4 separate regions of the Homo sapiens genome follow, and all the other regions are linked to region 4. Evidence: promoter capture Hi-C in 16 types of primary human blood cells and fetal thymus (Javierre and others, 2016). All regions are on one chromosome and are shown on one strand. The core of a region is centred on a gene start or on the middle of the fragment in contact, and the rest is flanking DNA. Distances in the headings are between cores, read along the strand shown. Region 1 holds the start of RPS3 (ribosomal protein S3). Region 2 overlaps ARRB1 (arrestin beta 1). Region 3 holds the start of TPBGL-AS1 (TPBGL antisense RNA 1). Region 4 holds the start of XRRA1 (X-ray radiation resistance associated 1).

Region 1 (4,785 bases), core at 2,182-4,681, 450 kb after region 4:
AGGAGGTTCTGGGGTTCTAGCTTTGTCAAAGATTATAATAGGGACCGTGGGAGAATGTGAGGCATATGGGAATGAAAAATAGAAGCGATTCACTGAGAGGGTCTAGGAGCCTGCTGTGATTTTACTCTGATCCCAGCACGCAAGGCCAGGTGCTCTCCCTCAGCGCCCACATCTCTAGTGAATCCATAGGCAGGTGGATTTACCAGGCTCATGTTTTCAGCAACCTGGCCCCACTCTATAGACAGACCAAGGAGTTGGATGAAGAGGCACATGAAGAGCAGAGAGAGATAACAGATGGATGGGGGGTGGGGGGGGGAAGAAAAACAACTTATTCCTAGGTTCCTCATCTTGGTAAGGATTGTCGCCAAGCATTCACAACTGAAGTCAGAAACTAGGGCTTCTGCTGGGCACAGTGCTTCACGCCTGTAATCCCAGCACTTTGGGAGGCCGAGGTGGGTGGATCATCTGAGGTCAGGAGTTCGAGACCAGCCTGGCCAACATGGTGAGACCCTGTCTCTACTAAAAACACAAAAATTAGCCAGTGGTGGTGCATGCCTGTAATCCCAGCTACTCGGGAGGTTGAGGCAGGAGAATCGCTTGAACCCAGGAGGCAGAGGTTGCAGTGAGCCGAGATTGCGCTACTGCACTCTAGCCTGGACAACAAAGGGAAACTTTGTCTCAAAAAAAAAAAAAAAGATAGATCCACAGCTACCATCTCTTTGGTTCTTTGGTTCATCCACTTCTTTTCCTTTCTTTTCTTTTTTTTTCTTTGAGACGGGGTCTCGCTCTGTCACCCAGACTGGAGGGCAGTGGCTTTGACCATGGCTTACTGCAATTCCACCTCTCGGGTTCAAGTGACTCTCATGCCTCAGCCTCCCAAGTAGCTGGGATTACAGGCGTGCACCACCACACTAGGCTAATTTTTGTATTTTTAGTAGAGATGGGGTTTCACTATGCTGGCCAGGCTGGTCTCAAACTCACGACCTCAGGTGATCCACCTGCCTCGGCCTCCCAAAGTGCTGGGATTACAGGCATGAGCCACCGCGCCCATCCACTTTTTGTCATCTTCCCTGGTCCCTCTGCTCAGCAACCACAGAACTCTGTTAATTCCGTGATTATAGGACAGGTCACTTTACATCAGAGTTGTTTTAGAGCTGGAGTTAAACACTCCAATGGCTTCTAGGACCAGAAAATAACTGAGTGGTGCTGCCAGGGAGTGTGGCACCTTGGAAAGACTCTTTTTGTGTAACAGGAAAGGAGAGCACTGCCCATGAAGAAATGTGGGTTCACTATTTTGCTAGATATTTCTATATCCTTAAGAAAAACCTAAAATAGTTTTAGAGAGAAATACCCTGACTTTTAAATGAAGAAAACTATTCAAACTTAAAATAAAACTGTTGGCTGGGTGCGGTGGCTCACGCCTGTAATCCCAGCACTTTTGGAGGCCGAGGTGGGCGGATCACAAGGTTAGGAGTTCAAGACAAGCCTGGCCAACATAGTGAAACCCTATCTCTACTAAAAATATGAAAATTAGCTGGACATGGCGGTGCTTGCCTGTAGTCCCAGCTACTCAGGAGGCTGAGGCAGGAGAATCGCTTGAACCCGGGAGGTGGAGGTTACGGTGAGCGGCGATCGCACCACTGCACTCCAGCTTAGGCAACAGAGTAAGACTTCGTCTCAAAAATAAATAAATAAATAAAATAAAACTGTTATTGAAGTGTTTAGGGGTAAAGTTTACCAATGTCTGCAACTTACTTTGAAATGCCTCAAAAGATGTATTGGTGGGTGGCTACAGGGATGAGTAGATCCACGATAAAGCAACAGCAAAATATTAATTGTAGCATCATTCTCAATTCCCCCTCAGCTTGGTGATGCATACACGTACAGTTTTTTCAACTGTTCTGTAAGCTTCATTAAAAAATGAAGGGACATTTTTAATTTTTTATTTTTTTTAGACTGAGTCTCACTCTGTTGCCCGGGCTGAGTGCAGTGGCACAATCACGGCTCACTGCAGCCTAGACCTCCTGTACTCAAGCAATCCTCTCACATCTCCCTCCAGAGTAGCTGGGACTACAGGCACACACCACCACACCTGGATAATTTTCTTTTTTCACTTTTCATAGAGATGAGGGTGTCTCATTCTGTTGCCCAGACTGGTCTCAAACTTCTGGCCTCAAGCTATCCACTTGCCTTGGCCTCCCAAAGTGCTAAGATTACAGGCCTGAGCCACTGCACCTGGCTAGAATTTTTTTTAATTGAAAAAGAAGGCCAGGCACGGTGGCTCATGCCTGTAATCCCAGCACTCTGGGAGGCTAAGGCAGGTGGATCACTTGAGGTCAGGAGTTCAAGACCAGCCTGGCCAACATAGTGAAACTTCATCTCTACTAAAAATACAAAAATTAGCTGGGTGTGGTGGTGTGCACCTGTAATCCCAGCTACTCAGGAGGCCAAGGCAGAAGAATCACTTGAACCTGGGAAGTGGAGGTTGCAGGGAGCTGAGATCGTACTACTGCACTCCAGCTTGGGCAACCGGAGAGAAAAGAAAGAAAGGAGAGAAAGAGAGAGAGAAAGAGAGAGGAAGGAAGGAAGGAAGGAAGGAAGGGCGGGCCCATGGGACCTTCTGGGACTTCTGTTACAAATTGTAATGGACTTGATGAAAGTAAGGTGGGGTAAATGAGAACAACATAAAGGACACAGAACGCAGTCCCTAGGACACTTAGTAAGTATCAGGTTTTATTATTATCATTTGGAATGGAGGAAATGGGTACAGACTGGGGGACATGAGTTGTTTTGTTTGTTTGTTTGTTTGTTTGTTTGAGACAGAGTCTCACTCTGTGGTCCAGGCTAGAGTGCAGTGGTAGGATCTTGGCCCACTGCAACCTCCATCTCCCAGGTCCAAGCAATCCTCCCACCTCAGCCTCCCGAGTAGCTGGGATTACAGGTGCCCGACACCACTCCCAGCTAATTTTTCTATTTTTAGTAGAGACGGGGTTTCACCATGTTCGCCAGGCTAATCTCGAACTCCTGACCTCAAGTAATCCGCCCGCCTTGGCCTCCCAAAGAGGAGTCTTAAATGAGTTTCACTGAGGGATTTCAGCAGATTTTCATTACAGTGTCCACCCTGAAAGTGTAGGGGCCAGAGTTCCACGCTGGTTAATCTCTCTTGCTGTGTGAACTTATACCTGTAATTTCCACCTCTGCACCTCACATTGCTTGTTTTGAAACTATGAGAATTGAACTCTAAGGTCCCCTGAAGTTTAGAAGTCCTGCTGGATGAAGCCCCTTTCCTGTTCCTGCCTACATTCTTCTTTCCCTGGACGCCTTACTTACGTAAAAACTACATTTCCCATGAGCACCCACAGGCGTGCACGCAGCGCAGCCCTCCGTCGTCGCTCGCGCCCTTTATACTCACTTCCGCCCGCGAGCCACTTCCTTTCCTTTCAGCGGAGCGCGGCGGCAAGATGGCAGTGCAAATATCCAAGAAGAGGAAGGTGAGCCTCTGGGGACTGGGTTCGGAGAACGACGGCGCCGCGCGGGTCGAGGGCTTCTCGGGGTGCCACCGCGAGGCCTGCAGCTCCGTGGCCTGCCCTGGAAGCGGCCTAGGCTTCCTGGCGTTCCTGCGGGCCGCGGATGGCGGTGGATTGAGTGAGAGGCCCCAGCCAGGAGGGCGCTGTGTGGCCGGGTTCCAAGTGAAGCGCAGAGAGATGGGCACCAGGCGCCCCTTCTGTCCCGGAGAAGGCGTTTGTGAGCATTTGTCGGTCAACGGAATTAGTAAACGTGGTATTTTGAGGGCGTGTGTCATTTCCCTCATGTCTTATCCCGTGGTTTTGGGAAGAGAAGGCAGCAGTGTATTCTTGCCTTAACTGGTCGTTTCTGGGTACAGTCCGCTGGCCCCAGGACCTCAACTTGAAGGGTTGCTGACGGTTGCTTGCTCCGTCTGGGGACCCCGGGAGGAAGCTGCCTCGGATTTAACGCCTTGTCATTACATGGGATAGAACTGTGTAAAAATCATTAGCTTTAAAAATAGACAGTTTGTCATTTCGTATATACACTTCGATGTCAAAATTAAATCCACAACTTCTCGAGAGTTAGGATTTGCCAGCTCTGTTGGTACCGTAAAGCCAAATAACATGGCTGGGATTCTTTAGACGGTGCAGGTTGTGTCTACAAGTGAGAGAGCTTATATGTTAAGTCTACTATCTATTCCTTAACAGTGACAAGTACAGTGTCTTTGCTGTGCTGAATGAAGTGTAAATAGGCCATTAGAGCAGTTTCTTGTTTTGCATGTGGAACTGTTTTAAACCCTTCGATGAAGAGATGATGACGAGTCTGACTTGGGGATGTTCTCTTTGCCCAGGTGGCCTACTCTGTGCTGCGTTCTGTGGCACAGTTTAAAGAGCCCTGGTTGAAGTAATTTCCTAAAGATGACTTAGAGGCATTTGTCTGAGAAGGGTTGCTGCACTCCTGTTGGAACAAGGGTTTGGAACCATTGGTTGGAGGTATTTAGTTTTGGTGAGGGATGCATTGACTAATAAGACTAGACTGGCTCAGGCGAAAGTGAGCCTACACCGATCTCCTAATTTTGAACTTTGCTTTGTTTGGATTAGTTTGTCGCTGATGGCATCTTCAAAGCTGAACTGAATGAGTTTCTTACTCGGGAGCTGGCTGAAGATGGCTACTCTGGAGTTGAGGTGCGAGTTACACCAACCAGGACAGAAATCATTATCTTAGCCACCAGGTAAAACTCATTTGACTGGCCATCACCTATAATTGTTATAAATGCTA
Region 2 (4,116 bases), core at 206-2,705, 330 kb after region 4:
AGACAGAGTCTTGCTCTGTCGCCCAGGCTAGAGTACAGTAGTGCGATCCTGGCTCACTGGAACCTCCACCTCCCAGGTTGAAGCAGTTCTCCTACCTCAGCCTCCCAAGTAGCTGGGATCACAGGGGCGCGCCACCATGCCCGACTAATTTTTGTATTTTTAGTAGAGATGAGGTTTTGCCATGTTGGCCAGGATGGTCTCAAACTCCTGACCTCAAGTGATCTGCCTGCCTCAGCCTCCCCAAGTGCTGGGATTATAGGCGTGAGCACCAGCCCTGTCTCTAAACACATTTTAAAAAGAAAAAATTATAGCTACACATAAACCATAAATGAAGCTATTTGGGCACCCATATACCCACCATCTAGGCTCAACAATTAAAACTTTACTTGCTTGATCACATCCATCATATATAGGGTGTTTTGATTGTCCAATTTTTACTTGCTTTTGCTCTATCCCCCATCCTTTCCAATGAGAGAGCTGTCATGCAGCAGATAGTGAACAAGCCTTGGAGTCGGACGACCGTGTTCCAGCCCCAGCTTTGCTGCTTGCTAACTTGCAAGTCACATCTCTCTGAGCCACTTCCTCCTCTACATACTGGGGCAGCAGCAACCCCAGCCCCACAGCGCTTCCTGAGAAGTAAACAAGTCTGTGAGTGCAAATGCCTCCCCAGCCATCCCTGCTGGTATTCGTTATGCAGACGCTGGCACCATCTGCAGTGGTTGGGATTTTCTACTCTTTAGGGATTATATGTTACTCTGGTTCTAGATCACTTCACTTTACCATCAGGAATCTATGCCTCATAGCTCTGATTTTTTTGAAAAAATCAACAGTGGATATGAAAAATATCCAGTAACCAGAGAAAGCTTGATCTAATCATAGCATGTTCACCTATAGGACATTAAAAACTATTTCAAAGGCCATGTAGTAACATTTTAAAAATATTTTCAGTTGCAAGAAATACTGATTGGAATTATACATAAACAAATACACATATACATGTAAAATTATATCAGGTATAATTGCCCCAAGAAATTACTTGCAGGGCCAGGAAAAAAAAATGTGTATGTCTTTGAATGGGAGCATTTACTTCCTTTAGGTAAGTAAAGATGTTTCACTTCAGATCTCTCCACTTGCCTTAGCTGCCAACAAGCCTGGGACAAAGTTCGATCCATGCTCAACCATAGCAGTTCTCCTCAAACCTAGATGATTTTTTTGTGTGTAATTATTCTCTGCACTCCCACACACAACCCCTTTTTCCCAATGAGTTGGATTACCCCTTTATCAGACAAGAGCTGTGTACCTAGTGCCTTACCCACTTTGCCCTGGCTACCAGGAAGCCAAGAACAAAGTATTTCCCTTCAACCTAGGTTTCTTGTACAACGTAATTATTTCTTCTCACAACCCCAATCCCCTTACATTCATTAGCTATTGTTTTGTCACTCTAGTTTTAGTGGGTCTCTTCCTTGACTGTAGCATGCATTTTCTTGAAGCTAAATCAGGTGGATGGTTTCTAAAAGGCTCTTCGGGATCATCTACTCTGAGTGGCAAGGAAGTCTGAGGCCCAGCCCTCTGCCAGGTGGAGAAGAGCCACCTGGACCTGTAACAGGACACCTAGAGCTTCTCTTTTTCCCACCCAATCCCATACGCCCAAGGCCAGACTTGTGCCCACTTACTCAGCCTCTTCCATGGCAACAGGGCACTTGTACTGAGCTGTGTTGAAAAGGCAGATGTCTGCATACTGGCGCACTAGGGAGGGAGAGGAATCAAGGTGGAGTGAGTCGGGAATGTAGCTCCCATGGAGTCTCACAGGCGTCCCCGGGTTGGGGATATTCAGCCCCAGGCAATGGCCAGAGGCCACCAGTGGGGACTTCTGCATAAGACCACCCCTGTCTTACATCCAAAGGGTAGCCCCAAACACACCCATTTCCTTCCATAACCAAAGCCTTCCCCTCAAGGACAGCTTTGTCCAGAACCCAAGAAACTGAAGAGGTGGCTTAAAGAGCAAACTCATTACCTAGCCAATAAGCAGCCTGCCTTACCCAACTCAAAAGCTTTGCCCTGTGGCTCAGAGCAGGCCCTGGGCTTCAGTGGCTATTTTTTATACAAGGCTGTTAACAAGGGGAGATACTTCAGCCACCCCCAGCCCTTGGGAAGATTGCCTCTCGCTGTCCCCTAAGCTGACCCTCTGTCTGGGATACCTGAGATCTTGATCTTCTTCACCGTCTTGTTGGTGTTGTTGGTGACGTGGACGTTGACGCTGATGGGTTCTCCATGGTAATAGATCTGGGGGGCATAAGAAGGGACGGGGTTGGCTGGGAGGACAGCAAGGTTCTAGGGAAAGGGGAGGGAGAAAAGCCCCCACGCGATCTTCTGGGGTTCCCCAGACCTTGCGCAGACCTTCAGAAGGGTCTGCTGCTCCCATCTGAAGTCCATCACATCCCTCAGGTTCATGCCCCCTCTGCCACTCCTTTAGGCCCAAGAGGCTTCTCCGAATCCCCCAAGGCATTGTGACATTTGCCCCAAGTTCATCAGCCACTTCCCACTGCTGCTAAGGTGGCATGAAAGCCACCAAGCACATTAGCCTTCAGTTCCCTGGTGGGACCCTTGAAAGATAACGGAATTGGAAGGTGATAGTCCTGGGCTCCAGCCCTGGCTTGGCCAGCAGTAATTGTGACAACAATAACAACAATAACATTGACGATGATGAAAGCAGTGTGACCGTGGGTAGGTTATCTAAGCCTCAGGGTCTCCCTCTGTGCAACGAAGGGGTTGGACTAGGTGATGTCTGAAGTCCCTGCCAGCTCTAAATTCTGTCCACAGAAGGATCTGGAAGAAGCAGGGAAAGGTGAGGATGGGCTCACCAGCTCACTGAGGGAGCCAGCTCTGAATCCCTACAAAAAGACCTCAACTTGCATCTTGCCCCAAGGCACTTCCCTTCAGCCATGCCCCGAGAGAGAGGGGGTGCCCACACCTTGAGGAGGGGCCAGCCTAAGCTCACAGCAGTCAGCTGGGTTTGATTCAGAGTTTGAGGGGAGGCCCTTCCTTCTGCAGGGCTTGTCGCCCTGACGCTCAGTGTTTGGCAGGAAGGTCACGGCCCCCCACCGTGCCCCCTCTGCAATGCTGGTTGACCTTCAGCACTCGGCCTGAGGCAGGCAGCTGGTGGAGGTGTGGGGGAGATGTCCAGGACCTTCAGGAAGGTCTGCTCCTCACTTCGGAAGTCCATCACATCTCTCAAGTTCATGCCCCCTTTGCCACTCCTTTAGGCCCAAGAGGCTTCTCCAAATCCCCCATGAGAGGTCTCAGATTCCCTGACCCCTGTGGTCCTTGGGCTGGGGATAGAAGCTCCTACCTGAGGCATCCTTGCAGGCCAGGAGAGAGCTGGGATCTGAGGCCCAGGCCCTGGTGGAGCAGCCCCCACCCCCTGCCAAGTCCGAGCCTCCTACCTCCTTATCCAGAGAGGCTTCTAGGTGCAAGGGCTTGTCCGACATGAGGAACTGCCTGGTGGTCTCGGCTGTGGGCTGGGGGCCAGGCCTCTCTGGGGCATACTGAACCTTCCGGATGACCAGACGCACAGAATTCCTAATGGAGATGGGCGGAGTGAAAGAGGACCAGGGTCACCTGCCTTCATCCCCTCTCCTTGCGAGCCTCACATCATTCTCCTGCTCAAGAGACTGGCATGGCTCTCCATCACCTTAGAATCCAGCCAAACTGCAGAGATCAGCATAGGGGTCTGTCACCATCTGGCTCCATTCCATCCTCCCCTGTTCTGTCCCAGAAGTGCCCTGTGGCTGCACTTCATTTGGTCCTGGTACCCAGCAGGATGCTGAAACAGGGACTACATTTTTCACCTCCTGCTTCCCTATGTCACCAAATAGGTAACATTGTCACTTCCTGACTCCCTATGTCACCATACACAAATAGTGTCCCTCTGTCATCTATTTTGGTGACATAGGACACTATTTGTGTAAGTTCTTTAAGGACAGAAATTTGTGTCTAAGGTGTTCACAGCTGTACTCTCAGCACCTATGACTGTGCCTGCCATATAATAAACAACTGCCAGATATCTATTATGTAAAACTATGCAGAGGGGACAGCGGTCTCAAGAAGAAATGGGGC
Region 3 (4,083 bases), core at 989-3,488, 280 kb after region 4:
TCTGTAGAGCCCTGGCTCTCATGCCTTCTGGGACAGGAAGCTCATTTCCCTCTCTGGCAGCCCACTCCACTCAAGCTGCTGAAATGCCTCTCTGAGCCACAGCCTGTGCTGGGCTCTGGGGAAGCAGGGATGAATGTGGTCCCTGCCCTCAGGAGCTCGCCATCTGGGGGCAGGCAGGGGGCAGGTGGCAGAAACTGACAACACACCCCCACAGGGAAGCAGAGGGAGCTGAAGGGGGCCCTAAGCTAGCCTTGCAGTGGGGTAGGCATCAGGAATGGCTTCCCAGAGCAGGTAGGGGACTGAAGAGGGCCTTGAATATACAGGTATGGTGGGTCTGTAGTTTCAATTATCCTCTAAGTGCTGGCAAATCCCAGCTGTGCACCCCCAGTCCTGACATGGCTCCTGAATTCTAGGCGTCAATATCCCACTGCCCAGTCAATGTCTCCACTTGGATGTCTTGGCATCCCTAACTCATCAGGACCAAGGCTAAGTTCACCCTCTCTGCCCACCTCACACCTGGTCTTCCCTCTGTCAGTTCTACCATCCACAGGCCAGAAACCCTGGGCCCATCCCTCCCCTTCACCCCGTATCCAGTCTGTCACCAGGCCCTGAGTATCTCAAACCCACCCACCACTCCCCACCTCCTCACCACCACCCAGCCCAAGCACCATTGCCTTTCACCTGTACTTCTCCAAGCGTCTCCTCATTTATCTTCTCATACTTGGCTCTTTCAATCATGTGGTGAGAGTGATCTTTACAAAATACAAATAAAATTATGTCACATTTCTACTTAAAAGCTTTCAATGGCTTCTCTTTGCCTTTGAAACAAAGGTTAAAATCTTCAAGGCCTGCAAGGCCCAGCATGGCCTGGCCTTCGCTGACAGCGCCAGTAGTATCTCAACAACCCCCTCCCTTGTCTCCTGACCTCCCGCCTCCAGCCCACCTGGCCTCATTGCCCACCTTAGAAACTTCTGTATGTGTTACTCACATTGTCTTTCCTGTGGGCACAAAAACCTGGGATGTCCTCTTTTTCTCTCCCAAATGACTCCCAGGACATCTGTTTATGTGCTCACTGACCCTGAACACCAGTCTCTAGCCCTTCTCTCCTGAAGGATCAGCTGCAGGACACAGTGGGGGGTTACAAAGTAACCGGCCTGTCTGGAGCTAAGGTCCCAGAACCTCCCAGTGTCCACAGAGGCGTGTCCCTGCCTGGCTCTCAGATGCCTTCCAGAGCTCCCACTCCCCTCCTGCTCTCTCTGTCTCCCTGTCTGGTGTTTGTTTGTTTGAGACAGAGTCTTGTTCTGTCGCCCAGGCTGGACTGCAGTGGCATGATCTCGGCTCACTGCAATCTCTGCCTCCCGGATTCAAGTGATTCTTGTGCGTCAGCCTCCCAAGTAGCTGGATTACAGGCACTCATGCCCAGCTAATTTTTGTATTTTTAGTGGAGATGGGGTTTCACCGTGTTGGCCAGGCTGGTCATGAACTCCTGATCTCAAGTGATCCACCCACCTTGGCTTCCCAAAGTGCTGGGATTACAGGCATGAGCCACCATGCCCCACCCCCTCCTGCTCTCTTCTTCCATTTCTGGTGAAGAGTTGGCAAACCTCCTTCCCTCAGCCCTACCCCTTCCGGGGCCTCAGTGCTCCTCACCACTGAGGGGCAGAGGTGAGGCCCAGCCTGGGTCATCGTGCTGGGACCTACAATCCATGTCCTCCCTGGGCTCCCAGACAAGCCAACCAGCCTCGGGCCTCAGGCCAGGCACTGCCTCTTCTACAGTTTGCTGGAGGGTTCAGGTTTTCTCTGGGCTCCCACAGTATTCTGTATGCCCAGCACTGTCAAATCCACCTGTTCTAGTGTTGGTTGCTCTTCCCCCGACCAGGAGCTCAACTTGCTCAGGGGCTGTGAGTTTTCATCTCTTCACCCCAAGCCTAGCTCAAGGATGGTCCCAGAAGAGAGGCTCAGGAAAGACTTAGCATATGAATTCAGGACTAATATCACATAAATGTGTGGTTTTGTTTTCTTTCCACATAAACTGCTATTAAACTCTGTTTCCTTCATCCTGAACTTTTTATGAAGAATGGACCTAAGAGTCTTATGGGCCTTGGCTTTGATCTGAGCTCCATCTCTTACTATGTGACCTGAGCAAATGCTTAGCTTCTCTGGCTTTCAGTTTCTTCCACTATAAAATGAGAACAGGGTGGAAGGGGTGAAGACTGAAAAACTACCTACTGGGTACAATGTTCACTATTTGGGTAATGGATACACTAGAAGCCCAAACCTCACCATTACACAAAATATCTGTTTAACAAATTGCATGTGTACCTCCTGAATCTATAATTAAAAAAAATAAAATGAGAACAACATCCTCCTAAGGTTTTCACTATTAACTGAGATATCTTATGTTAGGGTACAGCACGAAGTATGTGCTCAATAATTCCTTCTTCTCTCCCTCACCCGAACCTCTGAGCCCCGATGAGGACTTGACATTTACCTCCATGAACGTGAACCTATGGTCATCACCTATGGGCCAAGTTAATGCAGATCATTTTGAAACCCAGTTCTGCCATCTGACATAATCACTCTCCCACCCAGATTTGATAAGCATGCTTTATTTGGCCTAATCCAAGTCCCTGAAAAAATACATCAGACTGAGCAAGATAGCAGGGAGGAACAAGCCCGGAGCAGGGCACTAGTCTTCCCTCTAAGCTGCCATTGATCCACTTACCCGTTCTCCACCACCTGCTGTCCAGGCAGCCAGGGATTCCCCTAGTGTATCACGATTTGATCCCTACTGTAGCTTGCCATGAAAGTACCTTGGGAGGCTGGGCACAGTGGCTCACGCCTGTAATCCCAGCACTTTGGGAGGCCGAGGCAGGAGGATCACCTGAGGTCAGGAGTTCAAGACCAGCCTGGCCATCATAGTGAAACCCTGTATCTACTAAAAATACAAAAATTAGCTGGGTGTGGTGGCAAGCGCCTGTAGTCCCAGCTACTTGGGAGGCTGAGGCAGGAGAATCACTTGAACCCAGGAGTCGGAGGTTGCAGTGACTTGCGATCGCACCATTGCACTCAAGCCTCGGCGACACAGCGAGACTCTGTCTCAAAAAAAAAAAGTACCTTGGGAGATGTTCCAATTGCCTTTTTGAAATCAGGATTCTCAAGACTTCAACAGACCCCTGATCTATTGCAATTTTGGTTCTCCCAAAGCAAGAGAGATGAGAGATTAGCCTGACTTATTTTAAGTAAACCTAGGCTGGGTCCTGGTGATCACTATGTTTTATTCTTCTTTAATTTTTTTTTTCCTAGCTGGGATTTGAACTATATTCTTCTTTTTAAAATGATATATACCATTCCTTTTCTGCTGTCTTTGTTAATGCCGTTAAATTGGAAGAATTTTCAGTGATCAGTGAAAAGTCTCAGTTAGGAATTATTAAATTAACACAGGCTTCTTGCCTACTTGCTGTTGGCTGAAAATAGTTTAAAATACTTAAGTGAAAACTTTTCTCTACCACAGGAAATTTGCTTTCTGAGTGAATGAAGGTTTTCTATAGGAAGATAAATGTTCAACCTTCTCTTCTGACTCATTATAATCGTGGAATGGTAAAATTCAAGTAACTGCTGTTTTGTAATATTGAGTCAAACATTCACTTTAAAAAAATGTAACAATACTGTCTTAATAAAAGCTTAGCTGTATATTCTTAAGACTTAGAAGACTTTGGGAGGCCGAGGCGGGCGGATCACGAGGTCAGGAGATCGAGACCATCCCGGCTAAACGGTGAAACCCCGTCTCTACTAAAAATACAAAAAATTAGCCGGGCGTGGTGGCGGGCGCCTGTAGTCCCAGCTACTTGGGAGGCTGAGGCAGGAGAATGGCGTGAACCCGGGAGGCGGAGCTTGCAGTGAGCCGAGATCCCGCCACTGCACTCCAGCCTGGGCGACAGAGCGAGACTCCGTCTCAAAAAAAAAAAAAAAAAGAAAAGAAAAGAAAAAAGAAAAAAAGACTTAGAAGATAAGCTTGACTGATCATGATTTTCAAAGTTTTATAAGATTACTGAAAATACAAAAAGCCAGTACAAGAGGAAG
Region 4 (4,633 bases), core at 1,436-3,935:
GTGAGTGAGCTCTCACGAGATCTGATGGTTTTATAACTGACAGTTCCTCCTTCACACTCTTGCCCTCTCTTGCCTGTTGCCATGTAAGACTTGCCTCTTCCCTTTCCGCCATGATTGTAAATTTCCTGAGGCCTCCCCAGCCATGCAGAACCGTGAGTCAATTAAACCTCTTTCCTTTATAAATTACCCAGTCTTGAGCAGTTCTTTATAGCAGTGTGAAAATGGACTAATACAGGCACTATACCACACTGTATTATAATGCCTGCTTCCTTGTTTGTTCCCCACCTCACTACAGGCTGTGAGTATCTCCAAGGTCAGGTCAGGCCTGGGTCCTACTTACCTCTTTTTCTTTTTTTTTTTTTTTGAGACGGAGTCTTGCTCTGTCACCCAGGCTGGAGTGCAGTGTCGCTATCTCAGCTCACTGCAAGCTCCGCCTCCCGGGCTCACGCCATTCTCCTGCCTCAGCCTCCCTAGAAGCTGGGACTACAGGCGCCCGCCACCATGCCTGGGTAATTTTTTGTATTTTTAGTAGAGACGGGGTTTCAACATGTTAGCCATGATGGTCTTGATCTCCTGACCTCGTGATCCGCCCGCCTCGGCCTCCCAAAGTGCTGGGATTACAGGCGTGAGCCTGTACTTATCTCTTTATCCTGCATCTCACACAGGACCTGGCCTACTGAAGGAAGAGTCTCAATGATTGTTAATTGAACTAACCCAACCCATGAACAAAATGCCACAGGAGCACTTCATGCAGTGGGTGAAGAAAGAAGAAGCAAGTATCAGAAATAGTTTCACAGGGTAGGTGACATTAAAGCTGGATCTTGAAAGATGAGAAGTTGGCCTGGTGTGGTGGTTCATGCCTGTAATCCCAGCACTTTGGGAGGCCGAAGCAGACGGATCACTTGAGGTCATGAGTTCAAGACTAGGCTGTCCAACACGGCGAAATCCTGTCTCTACTAAAAATATAAAAATTAGCCAGGTGTGGTGGCATGTGCCTGTAGTCCCAGCTACAAAGACTACAGCTTGGGAGGCTGAGGCACAAGAACTGCTTGAACCCAGGAGGCAGAGGTTGCAGTGAGCCAAGATCCCACCACTGCACTCCAGCCTGGGTGACAGAGTGAGACTCTGTCTCAAAAAATAAAAAATAAAATAAAAAGTGACTAGGGCAATGCTGTATCATCTCACTTTATTTTAAATAAAAGAAAAATGAGAAGTTGTAAAAGATAAACTGCAACAACAAGCTACAGGGGATCTGACTAGTGTCCACGGATTGCTTCACAGAGGTAATGAAATATCATCTGATGTTATTGCTATTTAGTGATATTTATTTTCTTTTTAGTAATAATTTAGTTATTTAGTGATAATTATTTTCTTTTCTTTCTGATCTCGGCTCACTGCAACCTCCGCCTCCCCGGTTCAAGCAATTCTCCTGCCTCAGCCTCCCAAGTAGCTGGGATTACAGGTGCCCGCTACCACGCCCGGCTCATTTTTGTATTTTTAGTAGAGACGGGGTTTCACCATGTTGGCCAGGCTGGTCTTTAACTCCTGACCTCAGGTGATCCGCCTGCCTTGGCGGGGATTACAACCATGAGCCCCCACGCCCGGCCGAGATAATTATTTTCACATGAATTTTGGCTTCCCCAAGACAAGTTTTTGTCTGTTTTATTCAGGGATATATCCCTGGTGACTAGAATAGTGCCTGTTACATAGTAAGAAACTCAAAAATATTTGTTTAATTCTTTAGACGCTTATGGGGGATATATAGGAATTAAAAAACAATACAACGTAATAGAGCATGGTATAATACAATACTGCTATTTGATAACTCTGTCATGGAGTAGTAGTTCCACCAGAGTAGCAACCAGGTCTATCTTGATCCCCTGTATCCGTTAGTACAATATTGGTGCTCAATATACATTTGTGAAAAAAATTAATTAAAATACAACGTAATAGAGCATGGTATAATACAATACTGCTATTTGATAACTCTGTCATGGAGTAGTAGTCCACCAGAGTAGCAACCAGGTCTATCTTGATCCCCTGTATCCGTTAGTACAATATTGGTGCTCAATATACATTTGTGAAAAAAATAATTAAAATCTAGAATACTATTACATCCTAAAACCGTAAAAGCAGAGTGTCAGAAGGGATATATATTGGTTTTGATTTTTTTTAAATGCCGGCTTGAAAACCGAGTTCAGATACATGCTATCTGGCTTTGGGTAGGTTCTTTAGTTTCCTCCTCATCTAACAGGGCTGTTGTGGGACTCAGTGAGAGAGAGGATGGCTGGAAGTGCACATAGGATACTGCCTGGCAGACTGTAGGCACTCAGTAAACGCGAGTTCTCCGTTAACACGAAAACATTACAAACAGCTAAAATGACAGCTGCTTGAGAGAATAATCGGTAAGTGCCACAACCGGGCTAGAAAAGGATGAAGGACAAGCTCCTGCCCACTCCTTTGGAAACTCCACACCTGGGCCGGAGAAAGACTCGAATTCGAAAACTAAGTTTCAGTCGCACCTGCCTCCGGCGTCGCTTCAGCCTCCGAGGGGTCTGCGGAGGCGACGTCCCAGTCAGGAGGGATGCGCGCCTGCGAGCCCCCCGGGGATCTCGGAGCCGCTCCACTGCGGTGCCTGCCGCTATCTTCCCCACGCCTTAGTAACTGCGACGCGACGGCAGACAGTGTAGGCGGCAACCGACGGCCGGGACGTCTAACCTCAAGTCCCAGCAAGCCCCGCGGCCACGTCCTCTGACTACCTCGCGCCAGCAAGACCCAAACTACGGATCCCGATTGACTCCGCGCGGCGCGTCACGCTGTCAGCTCCAGCCAATCGGCTTCAGACAAGTCGGAGGGGAGGGAGACGCAGAGGCGGACAAGATGGCGGCGGCAGCTGTACAGGGCGGGAGAAGCGGTGGTAGCGGAGGCTGTAGTGGGGCTGGTGGTGCTTCCAACTGCGGGACAGGAAGTGGCCGTAGCGGCTTGTTGGATAAGGTGAGGAGCCGGTTCTTGGGAACAGTTGAATCCTGGGGAGGCCTGGGAGGCGGCGAGCCAACCTTCCCATCCCGGTCTCCCTTATTTTCTACGGCCTTTTGAGGGGAGCCCTTGTGTGACCACTATCACAACCCTACGCACGCTTGGAGCCTGCCCTTGCCCTCATCACACTTCAAACCTGGACCCGGTCCTCTTTAGAACTTCTTCTTTTCTCGCAAGTGTTCTGGTCCTGGTCGCCACACCTTTTTCGGTAATTTGATTTTTCCTATATTTAATCGTGTCCATCTCTTTTCTCCTGGGGGGCTGGGTGCACTGTTGTCAGTGCCCATTTCACAGACACGGAAAACCGAAGCCCAAAGATTAAAGAATCAGTATCCCCCAAACTCTCTACCACCATCACCCTTGCGTGCTGCTACAGATTCCAAAGTGCTTCTTGTCCTTTTGCTTACTGAAGTTTTTAGGCGTTTTATCATGATAGGCGAATACTGAAAATATTTGAGTATTGACTGTTCTACTGGGCTGACAAGAAGCCTTTAAGATTTTTCTTTTTTTCCTGTTGTTTTTCCCCGCCCTCTCCTCTCTTCCCTCCACCTCCCTCTTTGCTACCAAGTGCACTGCTGCCCGCTCACGCTTGCCCCTTTCCTCCCTCTGCTCATCCAAAAAAATTTTTTTTAACTGCAGTCCTAGCAACAAGGGTTTAAAAGAAAAGAAAAAAAGGAAAACTGTCCCTGGGTTGGCCTTTCTTGCTCTTTGCACAGCATCTTGGAAGAAACAGTTGCACGGAGAACAACGTCCTGGTGTTGATTTTGCCTCTAATTAGCTTTGTGACCTTGAAATATGCTTGCTCTCTCTATATCTGTTTTCTCATCTGCAAAGTGAGAGATTTAGCCTTAAAATGAGGGACTTAACTCTAAATTCCCTTCCAGTTCTCTCATTGTAGGGCCCTGGGCTGGTTTGATGAGAATTGTTAAGCATGGTGTCTTTAATATAGTAAGCAGAATTTTTGAATATAATTGAAAACAGCTTTCAGACTTCCCTGTGCATAACACATGGTAGGTGCTTAAGAAATGAAAACATGATTATGTTGAGGGGTTAAGATCCAGGTCTTTTTACTTGTCTTTTTGAGTGTCATTGGTTTTGAAAGACATGGTTCTCACACTCTTCTCTTGTGAGAGGGGTCACGCTCCATTGCCCAGAATGGATCTTAGCTCACTGCGGCCTTGAACTCTTAAGCTTAGGTGATCTTCCCACCCCAGCTTCCTGAGTAGCTGGGACTGCAAATGTGCACCACTATGCCTGACTAATTTTTTTGCTTTTAACTTTTCTGTAGAGTCAGGGTCTTACTGTGTTGCCCTGGCTGGTCTCAAATTCCTGGGCCTCAAGAGATCCTCCCACCTTGGCTCCCCAAAGTGCTGGGATTACAGGCATAAGTCACCATGCACCTGGCCTCACACTCAAACCTTAAGATACAGAAACATATTCTGGAGGTTGGGATGGTAAATTGCTTCAAGACATGTGAGAGTATGGGGAATTGATGGTCATTTGTGTACACAAATCCTTCCCTCTTGCTAGGTAAGCACCTCATAGCCTGTGCTTACCTGCCCCACTAACTGCTCTTGCTCTTCCTTGCACTTGGATC

What was found. The method cuts DNA at HindIII sites, captures the fragments that hold promoters and counts their contacts. A CHiCAGO score of 5 or more calls a contact.
Region 1: a contact is called between the fragment with the promoter of RPS3 here and the fragment with the promoter of XRRA1 in region 4, in 6 of 17 cell types (naive CD4 T cells, fetal thymus, total CD8 T cells and 3 more). The highest score is 7.8, in naive CD4 T cells.
Region 2: a contact is called between a fragment that was not itself captured here and the fragment with the promoter of XRRA1 in region 4, in 2 of 17 cell types (naive CD4 T cells and naive CD8 T cells). The highest score is 5.9, in naive CD4 T cells.
Region 3: a contact is called between a fragment that was not itself captured here and the fragment with the promoter of XRRA1 in region 4, in 2 of 17 cell types (M1 macrophages and erythroblasts). The highest score is 5.8, in M1 macrophages.

What each region holds. Positions count from the first base shown.
Region 1 is chr11:75,396,087-75,400,871 of GRCh38, forward strand. RPS3 (ribosomal protein S3) reads left to right here and starts at 3,432. Exons shown (of 7, transcript NM_001005.5): 1 at 3,432-3,491; 2 at 4,608-4,738. The coding sequence starts at 3,462. SNORD15A (small nucleolar RNA, C/D box 15A) reads left to right here and starts at 4,305; the gene lies at 4,305-4,452. RefSeq lists enhancers at 3,409-3,768, 3,995-4,785. The HindIII fragment of the contact is 4,256 bases long and covers 1,907-4,785 here.
Region 2 is chr11:75,275,166-75,279,281 of GRCh38, forward strand. ARRB1 (arrestin beta 1) reads right to left here. Exons shown (of 16, transcript NM_004041.5): 8 at 3,444-3,579; 9 at 2,199-2,283; 10 at 1,674-1,746. Among named protein-coding and RNA genes, the nearest start is that of TPBGL, 36 kb to the left of the region's middle. RefSeq lists an enhancer at 2,713-3,213. The HindIII fragment of the contact is 1,188 bases long and covers 862-2,049 here.
Region 3 is chr11:75,224,351-75,228,433 of GRCh38, forward strand. TPBGL-AS1 (TPBGL antisense RNA 1) reads right to left here and starts at 1,294. Exons shown (of 6, transcript XR_950308.4): 1 at 989-1,294; 2 at 682-752. It also overlaps the pseudogene ZDHHC20P3. The HindIII fragment of the contact is 2,886 bases long and covers 796-3,681 here.
Region 4 is chr11:74,946,406-74,951,038 of GRCh38, forward strand. XRRA1 (X-ray radiation resistance associated 1) reads right to left here and starts at 2,686. Exons shown (of 19, transcript NM_001378157.1): 1 at 2,523-2,686. It overlaps SPCS2 (signal peptidase complex subunit 2), which reads left to right and starts at 2,861. Exons shown (of 5, transcript NM_014752.3): 1 at 2,861-2,994. The coding sequence starts at 2,881. RefSeq lists enhancers at 2,054-2,908, 2,406-2,455, 2,576-2,635, 2,766-2,985, 2,909-3,763 and 1 more. The HindIII fragment of the contact is 7,778 bases long and covers 1-4,225 here.